Linked DNA regions of Homo sapiens: all the other regions are linked to region 1. Evidence: promoter capture Hi-C in human tissues and cell types (Jung and others, 2019). All regions are on one chromosome and are shown on one strand. The core of a region is centred on a gene start or on the middle of the fragment in contact, and the rest is flanking DNA. Distances in the headings are between cores, read along the strand shown. Region 1 holds the start of C5orf24 (chromosome 5 open reading frame 24). Region 2 overlaps DDX46 (DEAD-box helicase 46). Region 3 overlaps DDX46 (DEAD-box helicase 46).

The links. Contacts are between HindIII fragments. The study calls those that stand out against the background at their distance.
Region 2: a contact is called between a fragment that was not itself captured here and the fragment with the promoter of C5orf24 in region 1, in 1 of the 25 tissues and cell types used here (lymphoblastoid cells).
Region 3: a contact is called between a fragment that was not itself captured here and the fragment with the promoter of C5orf24 in region 1, in 1 of the 25 tissues and cell types used here (thymus).

The regions. Positions count from the first base shown.
Region 1 is chr5:134,843,650-134,847,611 of GRCh38, reverse strand. It overlaps C5orf24 (chromosome 5 open reading frame 24), which reads right to left and starts at 1,644. Exons shown (of 2, transcript NM_001135586.1): 1 at 1,400-1,644. RefSeq lists silencers at 1,219-1,268, 1,299-1,678 and an enhancer at 1,198-1,933. The HindIII fragment of the contact is 2,814 bases long and covers 1,173-3,962 here.
Region 2 is chr5:134,788,960-134,792,921 of GRCh38, reverse strand. DDX46 (DEAD-box helicase 46) reads right to left here. Exons shown (of 23, transcript NM_001300860.2): 13 at 2,370-2,452. Among named protein-coding and RNA genes, the nearest start is that of DDX46, 32 kb to the right of the region's middle. The HindIII fragment of the contact is 3,195 bases long and covers 532-3,726 here.
Region 3 is chr5:134,805,628-134,809,589 of GRCh38, reverse strand. It overlaps DDX46 (DEAD-box helicase 46), which reads right to left. Exons shown (of 23, transcript NM_001300860.2): 16 at 1,649-1,842. Among named protein-coding and RNA genes, the nearest start is that of C5orf24, 38 kb to the left of the region's middle. The HindIII fragment of the contact is 9,378 bases long and covers 1-3,962 here.

The DNA.
Region 1 (3,962 bases), core at 395-2,894:
TTTTTAAATAGTTACTGAAGCCGGGTGCAGTGGCTCACGCCTGTAATCCCAGCACTTTGGGAGGTTGAGAAGGGTGGATCACGAGGTCAGCAGTTCGAGACCAGCCTGGTCAACATGGTTAAACACCATCTTTACTAAAAATACAAAAATTAGCTGGGTGTGGTGGCGCATGCCTATAATCCCAGCTACTTGGGAGGCTGAGGCAGGAGAATTGCTTGAACCCGGGAGGCAGAGGTTGCAGTGAGCCGCGATCGCGCCACTGTACTCCAGCCTGGGGGACAGAGTGAGACTCCGTTTCAAAAAAAACAAAACAAACAAAAACAACCAATAAATAGTTCCCTGAATGTACAGGAGTCAACTAAGAGCTTCTATATATTTGGACTGTGACTAAATTCGAATACTTAAAGCATAAGCTAAAACTTACCATCCTTGAAGTTGTTTTATTGTGTTTAACTCCTAAAGTTTAACCCCTAAAATGAGCCGTTCTTTATAGAACAATTCCTTTCTCTTCTCTTGAATGTGGCAGTCATTACTGCCAACATAAAGAAATGTAACTATTTTTAGTAACTTCACAAAGCATCCCTGAAGCTTTCTAAACATGGAGAAAGCTTCCTTTCAAGAAACCCAAGTTCTGTTCTCCAAAGATCAAAGATCACGTAATTCTCAGAGATTTATTTCAGGTCATTTGACTAACTATTATGTATAATCATATACGTTTCATAATTCTAAATGAAGATTTGCAACTCACCTCAATCACTCTGAAAGTCCATTCAGCAGAGGCCAATAGCCACGCACCCTGCCCCACCACGGAAAGTTTTGATAATAGGACGGCACATAAATAACGGCCTCCTTTGTCTTCTTCCTGCTCCTTAACTGTGCCCCACGGTGCACAAATAAGGACTCTCCTTATTTTGACACGAGGCGTTTAGAATGTATTACCTGTTGTGTGCTGAAAGCGACTATTAGCGTATTGGCAATAACAAGTTTGCAGAAGATGCACGCCACCCTAGAGAAAGGGTTGTGTACCCTCTAAAAAGCAAAATTCATAAGCCGCTATCCGTCCACTCGGAGTTCCGCAAGCGTAGAAGTCCACGGGCACTCCATCGCGACGCCGATCTCGAGCCGGCAGGCTTTTATTTAAAGGCGAAGGGCGGACTGCGGATTCTGACCTCTCAAAGAAAAGAAAGGGGGCTCCCTCCCCCCGCCGCAGGAGGAATGTCCCCCCGTAATGGCTCCACACCGGGGAAGAGCAGGCTACGTCCGGGGCCCCTCCTCTCACTCCGGCTACACTAGGGCCCCTTGGCAGGAGGCCTCTTCTCCCCGGTCAGCGAGGCGCCCGTTCTCGCCGCCGCCCTACCCCGCTCCCGGCCGGCTGACCAGCCCGCGCACCCCTACCTACCTCAGCCGCTCGTAGCCCGGCCCCTCGGCGCGTCTAGGGGCTTCCCAGCGGCTGGGAACCTCGTGCTGGCGCCGCTCCCTCCCCAGCCCGCCGCCTCTGCACGGTGCGGAGAACGGGCCAAGACGGAGTGGCAGGCAGCGAGGGCGGCGGCGAGGCAGGCGCTGGCTCCCAGCACCCGCCGCGGCCGCCGCGCACGGTCCTGCCCCGGACGCAGTACGAAGAGGCCGCTACCACCCTGTAGTGTTAGAGGCGGCGTGCGCGAGCTCGCGAGGGCCGCGCACGCACACGCTCACTCGCATCGCGAGACCCGATCTCCCGCCGCCAACCTGCACGCAAGCTTTGGGAGGGAGCCAGGCTGGCAGGCTGCGCTTGCGCGTCGTGGCCTTAAGCCTGAGCTGCTGGTGATCCGGCGTGGACCGTCCCCAGTGGCTGGGGTTGAGGAACCCACCAAATGGGGAATTAATAACTTCCTTACTTGTATTGGTTTTCACCACAATTCTGAGATGCTGGAACTCCTGCTGACCCCATTTCTTAGATACAGGACAAATAAATGATAGTCAGGGGAGTTGGGACTCTTCATGCCCAGGATCATGTGATAATGAAAAGCTTTATTTTATGGGACATCCTATGATCCACGCAGATTACAGGCGTAAGCCACCACGCCCCAGGAATTGTCGCATTCATTATTCCATAATCACAGGAAAGGATGGAACAACAAACTACCGCTATTATGTTTTTCTTGTGAGATATCTGACATATCAGTCACCTCACACAAACCCACTTAGAAGGGATTCATTTCCTCACTCCTTCCTCCTGTGAATTTCCAGATGTCAGAATGGAGAGGATCCAGAATTAGGGCAGCTACTGAAAGGGAGACACTTTATTAAGCAGTGGGAAGAGGCTAGAGGAGGATGCTTGCCCTTTTCCCCCATGTAATGAAGGATATTTGAGGATGGACAATTCATAGAACTGAGTTCTACCATAAGCACAGCCCTGAGCCAGGTACTGCCCTGCCAGTAGGAAAGAAAGGAGGAGAAACAACTTTTCTGGACAAACACACAAGCCAGGACACAACACACGAAACAAGCAAGCCCATTCATTCAAACTACTGAGGGACTGGAGACAGATAAGCCATGTGAACAGTTGATCAAACCTACACCAATAAAAACTCTGGACAGCCTGGGTGCGGTGGCTCACGCCTGTAATCCCAGCACTTTGGGAGGCCGAGGCGGGCAGATCACGAGGTCAGGAGTTCGAAACAAGCCTGACTAACATGGTGAAACCCCTTCTCTACTAAAAATACGAAAATTAGTTGGGCATGGTGGTGCGCACCTGTAATCCCAGCTACTCGGAAGGCTGAGGCAGGAGGATCGCTTGAACCCAGGAGGTGGAGGTTGCTGTGAGCCGAGATCGCACCACTGCACTCCAGCCTGGGACAGAACGAGACTCCGTCTCAAACAAACAAACAACAACAACAACAAAAAACTCTGGACACAAAGCTCAGGTGGAATTCCCTGGTTGGGAAGCTAGGATTTTTTTGGCAGACGGAGATTCATAACATGATTCTAAACATCATTCCAACTAGGTGGAGTGATTCACACCTGTAATCCCAGGACTTTGGGAGGCCAAAGCAGGAGGCCAGGAGTTTGAGACCAGCCTGGACAATATAGAGAGATTCTGTCTCTACAAAAAATAAAACAATTAGCTGGGTGTGGTGATGAGTACTTGTAGTGCCAGCTGCTACGGAGGCTGAGACAGAAGGAAGGACTGAGATAGGAGGAAGGAGACTGAGGCTTCCTTAAGCTGTGTTTGTGCCACTGCACTCCAGCCTGGGCAACAGAGTGAGACCCTGTCTCAAAAAAATAAAATGCTAAAAAAACAGGATTAATCATGCTAGTGTTATTTATATGTAAAAGGAAAATACCAATATAGAAAAGTTAAAATATGTACACAGATTTTAAGGCATATTAAGTAGCCTATCTAAAAACAAGTTTTTTTTCTAAGCAAGGTTTTTTTGCTCTTGAGGTGGAGCACTCCCATACCATATAATCACTATTCCAAATCTGTAACTCTAAACTCTTGTCTGAAATGGCATTTGTACATAAAAACATTTAAGAAAAAGAAATTTTCATTCTAAAAAAGTCAAGTAATTTGCAGGCCCAATGGAGGGGTAGCCAGAATAACAAAGAAGTCAGGCAGCCCTGAGTTTGAATGCCTTTCTGCCACTTGCCTCCCATGGTATTTTGGGCAAGTCATTGCTCCACCAAAAGTTTCCACATGTAAGAAATTAAGACAATGTCTTCCTTGTAGAGCTGTGAAATTAAATAAGGTAATAGGACTATTTAAATATCCATCAGTGGCCAGGCACAGTGACTCATGCCTATAATCCCAGCACTTTGGGAGGCCAAGGCGGGTGGATCCCCTGAAATCAGGAGTTCAAGACCAGCCTGGCCAACATGGTGAAACCCTGTCTCTACTAAAAATACAAAAAATTAGGCATGGTGGTGCATGTCGCTAAATCCCAGTTACTCGGGAGGCTGAGGCAAGAGAATCGCTTGAACCT
Region 2 (3,962 bases), core at 880-3,379, 55 kb after region 1:
CGACCTCCCAAAGTGCAGAGATCCTAAGCATACATCACCACGCCAAGCCTCCAGCAGGTTTTCAGTTATCAACAAACAATTATTCAGCATTTCTCTCTCATGTACTTATACACATGTACATACGCACATACATGTACCTAAGCACATACACGGACATAAATACATGAGATAATGCTGAATTAATCATTTATTTTGTTTATATGTACTTATGTACCTGTATGTATTTATGGCAAGGAATGATTCACACTTTGCCTTTCAATGGAAAATGTTGTGTTGAACTCACTCTATAAGAACTTGGTTTACCAGAAGGTCCCTATCAATCACTCTATCTACTTAAAGCATTATAATAAAATCTAAGATTTCACATGATTGGGAAAGACATTAAAGGGCATGTGACTGTGTTCCATCTGACACTTCAATTCTCTTTACTCTCTTACCACAACAAACAGACCCCTTGACTCTGCTTGAACACCTGGAAGAAACAGATATTCAGTATATCCGCCCCCGCTCCCTCACGAAGCAATGTTTCCTCTCCAAATAATGTTTATTCAGTCCTTCCTCAAACTAAACTCAGATCAAGCTCCATATGACTTCCCCACTGGATCCCATTTGTACTCCTTGGGATGAAAAAAATAAATTCAATGCTGCTTTCATGTGACACTTGTTCAGAGTTAAAGGATGCTATCTTATCTTCTACTCAAAGCTGATTATTATTACTATTATTATTATTATATTATTATTTTTTGAGACTAAGTCTCGTTCTATCACCCAGGCTTAAGTACAGTAATGCGATCTCGGCTCCCTACACCCTGTGCCTCCCAGGTTCAAGTGATCCTCCTGACTCAGCCTCCCAAGTAGCTGGGATTACAGGCGCCCGTCACCATGTCCAGCTAATTTTTGTATTTTTAGTAGAAACGGGGTTTCACGATGTTGGCCAGGCTAGGCTGATCTCCTGACTTCAAGTGATCTGCCTGCCTCGGCCTCCCAAATTGCTGGGATTAAAGGCATGAGCCACCATTCCCTGCCCAAAGCTAAATATCATTTTAACTGTTTCGCATATGGTTCAAGCATTACCATAATCCTGCTTCCTCTGTGTTCCTCTATTTACATCTCATTTAGAATGCAGTCCCTAAATCTAAATACAATACATGCACTAACATATAACTGGCAATAAATTTTTGGAGAGTACATGGATAAACTGAAAAGGCTAAATATGACATTTGCCTTATCCCTTTTCCATGCACATTTCCATTACTATGGTCTCTTATAATCCTTTTTTATTCATTTTTTGGCAACTACAGCCTACTGACAATTCACAATGATCTTCTTAAGAAAACCTTCTACCACTTTTTTTTTTTTTTGAGACGGAGTCTCGCTCTGTCTCCCAGGCTGGAGTGCAACAGCGTGATCTCAGCTCACTGCAAGCTCCGCCGCCCGGGTTCACGCCATTCTCCTGCCTCAGCCTCCTGAGTAGCTGGGACTACAGGCGCCTGCCACCAAGCCCGGCTAATTTTTTTGTATTTTTAGTAGATATGAGGTTTCACCGTGAAAGCCAGGATGGTCTCGATCTCCTGACCTCATCTACCACCTTTAAAATGTGTTCCTATAAATGTGTATCACTGAAATTTTGTACCTGAGCAAAGAGCATATATAAGGAACATAAAAACCTAAGCTAGATAAATTCTTTGGGCCATTATCTTAGCAAACGTGAATGACTTTGGTAAACGTAAATGACGTGCTATCTAGACTAGATAATGAGGTATCTAAAAGCATGAATTAAAAGAATTTATTTAAAAAGACAATGGGCCGGGCACAGTGGCTCACGCCTGTAATCCCAACACTTTGGGAGGCCAAGGCGGGTGGATCACCTGAGGTCAGGAGTTCGAGACCAGCCTGGCCAACGTGGTGAAACTCCATCTCTATTAAAAAGTTAACCGGGCGTGGTGGCGGGCACCTGTAGTCCCAGGTACTCGGGAGGCTGAGGCAGGAGAATCGCTTGAACCCAGGAGGCAGAGGTTGCAGTGAGTAGTGATCGTTCTCCACTGCACTGCAGTCTGGGCGACAGAGCAAGACTCCATCTGAAAAAAAAAAATAAGGCTTAAGCTCTATTATTAGCACTCCAATTCTAGCTTTGTTGGTGTTGGTCTTAGATGGCTAAGAAATGCCGGTATAAATACCTCCTGAAGAAGTTTTGTGAGGAATCTGAAACATAAATATGTACTTCAATACTGTATGTCCCCAGTCTTCTGTATTACCGTGCAACAGAAAAGTGTGTGTGTGAATTTCAGAAACCACATGAACATTTCATTCTCATGGCAACTACAAAGTTATATTTACATTTCAAAACACTTAAGAAATTTAATGATTACCTGGGGTTCAAAACCCATGTCAAACATTCTGTCTGCTTCATCTAAAACAACATATGTCACTCTTCGAAGATTTGTGACCCGACCTAAGATGAAAAGAAAAATAAAGACAAAAAGAAAACTAAAAATCAGTCACAATTCATTTTATGGCTACCAAGAACTTTTAAAAACTGTAAAGGAAACTAAAATGCCTGACTTAACCAGAGGGGTAAGTTAGGTATCTTTAAAAAGTGAAAAGAAATTTTGATCTACAATGTCTTAATCTAGTGGCAAATACTTTCTGACAATGGGTATATGAGGCCCTTTATTTTGTCAAACTCGTCTCTTGCATACCATCATAGGGCCTGAAGAACCTGTAAAATTCAGAAAACAGCCCTCTCCAAAACACATCATAAAACTAAGACTGAGATGAAGCATCGAGCCACATCAGCCATTATCTGACAGCATCACCTAGAAAAAAACATATTAGAGATTACAGCGTATGTGTGGAAAGCAAGTTCTAGTGCTAACTATTTTAGACACAGAAAATGTCTCTCTATATTATTTTATAACCTACTTCCATATATTTAGAAGCTTCTTAAATGGGCATGTCAAACCCTTAATGAGAAGCTATTTGACAGCATTAGGAAATTAAAGTATCACACAAAAACTTTAAATACCAAAACACATTACATAAATACATTTTCCATACAAAGATATAAATCCCAATTTTATTAAGTGAACCCACTGACTTAAATAAATGCAACTGGCTTCCTAACCAGTGAAAACAAAATACATACATAGGAAATTCCTTCTAAAATATTAACAGAAGCATTGCTATCAACTGTTGAATCAATCACCTGGCAAAAACACGTATAAAATAGTTATTTAAAAATAGACCACAATGACAGATAAGAGAAAAAGGTAAAATTAATCAAGATGAATTTCAGGAGGAGACTTAATCAATGCAGCATTGAGAAAAAAAAAAAGGGATTATTTAATCAGCATTCAAACCAAAACTTTCCATATGCTAGACAAGCACAATGACTTCTCAATTTCGATGTCACTTTGCCAACTTCATGTACAATTAGAATTAGAAATTCAAGCAGAATACTACTAGAAACATGCACTAACTCAGTTTTTAATACTCTATTATGTACACACTAAATATTGCAATGGAAACCTCTGAGAGCATTTTCTTCAAAAAATAAAAAGTGCCAAAATAAGTGCTATCTAATATTTAAGTATTCCACACTAGCATTTGTAGCCCCAATTAGTTTTGCAAGGTCGGGAACAGCATTAAATTACCTACCTTTGATGGTTTAAGTCTCGGAAGCCCAGTTCTATAAATCTTGAAGGGCCTTTCTCCACAGAAGTTAAATAATGTCAACAGTTTAGTAAGAGTTTTGATAGGGAATAATTTAACAAAGCATAACATTTGAGCTACAAACATGCAATATTTACAAAAGATAAAATTTCTTGAAGCTGCAATATCTTAATTTATGTAGTATCTAAGAAAATACTAGCTCATGTGGAGAAAAAGTCTAAATTTTGTAATAAAGAAAAAGCTACTACCCCACTCTTTTACTAAGCAAAGCCAGGCCAAAACTGGATTAA
Region 3 (3,962 bases), core at 370-2,869, 38 kb after region 1:
TCCTGGCTAACACAGGTTTTAGTAGAAACCCCGTCTCTACTAAAAATACAAAAAATTAGCCAGGCGTGGTGGCACACGCCTGTAGTCCCAGCTACTTGGGACACTGAGGCAGGAGAATCGTTTGAACCTGGGAGGGAGAGGTTGCAGTGAGCCAAGATCATGCCACTGCACTCCAGTCTGGGCAACAGAGCGAGACTCCATCTCAAAAAAACAAAAACAAAAACAGAAATATCTAAATAGCCACTGCCTTTGACCCATGGTCTGCTTTTGTACTCCTACGGGGCTACAAGTATTTACATTTTTATAGGGTTATGAACATATATACAATAACACATATATATACAGAGAAGGAGAGAGAAAGAGAAGAATATGTGACAGAGCCCAAATAGGCTACAATTTTCAGTACATGGCCCTTTCCAAAAAAATATTCTTGACTCCTTCCAACAGGTTAGAAGAATAAATGCCATTACTACTTATTAAATGTGCATAAGCAGGTGAGCTAAATCCTATGTGCATGAATTTTTCTCATCTATAAAATAGAGTAATATTATTTACCTCAAAGGAAAGTTTTAAGGATAAAATGACATTACATATGTAAAACACTTAAATCGTTTTAAGGATAAAATGACATTATATATGTAAGGATAAAATAACATTATATATGTAAAACAGTTAAAATGACATTATATATGGCAGATAATACGTTATCCATTAATGTAAGCTATGGCATATAAATACTACTTATTGCTTTATTATGCAATGTACAGGGTTAGAAAATTAAATATATCATAATCAATGTCTCCAACAACAGACTAGTCTGCTGCCTCTAGAAGGAATGAGTTAGACCCATACAGTTTCTAGAATACAGGTGAGTCAAAAAAGCAAGTAACATATGTATGTATGAATGATAGGGAGGTAAAGAGGGGAGTAGGAGAAATTGGTAGGTGTGGAGATGGGTATATTTTATGATCCCATGTTTTTTTTTAAAAAAAGATCCTGAAGTATAAACATTTATGTGTATGTGTATACAGATGGTCCCCGACTTACAATGATTCAATTTATAATTTTTCAACTTTACCATGGTGCAAAAGTGATATGCATTCAGTAGAAATTGTACTTTGAGTACCTATACAACCAGTTTTTCACTTCCAGTACAGTATTCAGTAAATTACATGAGATATTCAATACTTTATTATAAAATAGGCTTTGTGTTAGATGATGATGCCCAAGTATAACCTAATGTAAGTGTTCTGAGCATGCTAAAGGTAGGCTAGGCTACTATGATGTTTAGTACGTCAGGTATATTAAATGCATTTTCAACTTACGATGGGTTTATCGGGACATTGTAACCCCATCATAAATCAAGGAACATCTGTATAGAAACGTTTAGGCATGAGGGGAAAAACCTAAAAGGGAAGACAAACTGTTAACAGGATCTGCCTACAAAGAGCAGCTAGGTATCTGATAATTTGAACAACACTTAGACCTGTACATGTATATAAATTATTAACATCAACCACTCTTCACATTATGTGGATTAAAGATTTTCAAAATGTCTCCATAACTCCTATTATCTACTCCTTGAAATACTAAAGAAACACCTGTATTTTAATATAATGAAGATCAACTATAAAAAACTTATTTTTACCTTGTTTCCTGCTCTTCCAGTCCGCCCTGCTCTGTGTACATAATCCTCATAATGGTTGGGGCAGCTATAATTTACTACAAGAATCAGATGTTTCACATCTAGACCTCGGGCAGCAACAGAGGTAGCCACAAGAAGTTTGCAGGTCCCATTCTTAAAGTCATTTATGATGCTATCTCTGTCATATTGATCAATGCCTGCAAGTAAATTAGAGAGCTTTAAAACATGTTCAAATTAAATTTTCCATGTCTTCTGACCAAGAATCTAAACTCAGTGAAGAACAAATTGACACATCCAACTCCTAAAATATAGAAAATAAAAGACTAAGAAAATGTAATGGCAAGATTAAAGGTTATTGCTATTAACTCATTTATGAATCTTTCAACTCTGGTCTTGTATTGCCCCCTTTCTTCTATATAAGGTTTATATTTGCAAAGGTCCAATATCAGAAATTAATCTAAACCTGTTTGGGAGCCAAAGCGAGAAAAGGCAGAAACATTCAGCCTATATTGACAAGAGTTAGATCTTTCTCCTTTCCCTGTAGGTTATTTAGAGCCTTGCTACTCGGTTTTGTCCAAGGACCAGAGCAGCATCACCTGGGAGCTTGTTAGAAATGCAGAATCTAGGCCAGGTGCGGTGGCTCATGCCTGTAATCCCAGCACTTTGAGAGGCCGAGGCGGGCAGATCATGAGGTCAGGAGTTCGAGACCAGCCTGACCAACATGGTGAAACCCCGTCTCTACTAAAAATACAAAAAAAAAAAAAAAAAAGCCAGGCGTGGTGGCACATGCCTGAACCTGGGAGGCAAAGGTTGCCGTGAGCCGAGATTGCGCCACTGCACTCCAGCCCAGGCGACAGAGCATGACTCTGTCTCGGGGAAAAAAAAAAAAAAGGAAATGCAGAATCTAGGGTTATACTCCAAACTACCGAATCAAAATCTGCATTTTAAAAAACCTTAGGTGATTATCATATGCAAATTAAAGTTTTAGGAATACTGGTTTAGAAGTACCCAAATGGATATCTCTTAAATAAATGATCCAAAGAGGTTTAGTATGAATGGCAAAGCAGAGTATAAAATACCATAAAGTTCTATTACGACATGCCCAGACCACAAAATATTTTATGATGAGGTTCCCAGGAAACTCTGGTAATAGAGAAGGGAATAAGATAAACTCTCAAAACTTAAAACTCATGCTTTCAATGGAAGATTTCACAGAAAATCTGGGTTTAACATACACTGTTTAGCACGTAAATAATTACCAATATTAATTCTTAGTACTACCTAAAATTTTAAAGGTACTCTTCAAGGATTGATTTAAAGGAAGTATTTGAATCATTGTCAAAGAAACTGGAATCTAACACTTCACCAAAAAAATTGCCTAAGAAAATTTAATGAAATCAATATCAATATAAATTTGTTTATAATTTGAAAATACCAAAACTTTTACTTTAGCCTAAAGTATCCTTACTAACATAATCACATAAAATTGATTCCTTAGAATTGAATATAATATGCTAACTGAAGCAGCATATGGGATGTCAACCCAAAAACCATGAACCCCCTTCCTTTTTAAAATAACCCCAATTTTGTTCACATACCAACCCAACACATAGTCAGGTATACATCAAATGAGAGACGGGCCTAATCCCAGTCTCAAAGAGTGAATTGTGCTTGGTGTAAACCAGCCCTTCTCAAACTTTCTGTTTTCAGGATGTCTCTTTTTTTTTTTTTTAAAGACGGAGTTTCACTCATGTTGCCCAGGCTTGTGCAATAGCGTGATCTGGACTCACTGCAACCTTTGCCTCCCAGGTTCAAGCGATTCTCCTGCCTCAGCCTCCCCACTAGCTGGGACTACAGGTGACTGTCACCATGCCTGGCTAATTTTTGTATCTTTAGTAGAGACAGGGTTTCACCATGTTGGCCAGGCTGGTCTTGAACTCCTGACCTTGGGTGATCCGCCCACCTCCCAAAGTGCTGAAATTACAGGCATGAGCCACCAGGCCTGGCCTTTAGGATGTCTTTATATCTTAAAATCAATAAGAACCCGCACCCAAAGAGCTTTAGTTTAGGTCTTGTCTATCAATACTTAATGTATTAGAAATTAGAACAGAGAGGCTGGGGGCAAGGCTCACGCCTGTAATCCCAGCACTTTCGGAGGCCGAGGCAGGAGGATCACCTGAGGTCAGGAGTTTGAGACCAGCCTGGTCAACATGGTGAAACCCTGTCTCTTCTAAAAATACAAAAAAAAATTAACCAGGCATGGTGGCAGCCACCGGTAATCCCAGCTACTCAGAAGGCTGAAGCAGGAGAATTGCTT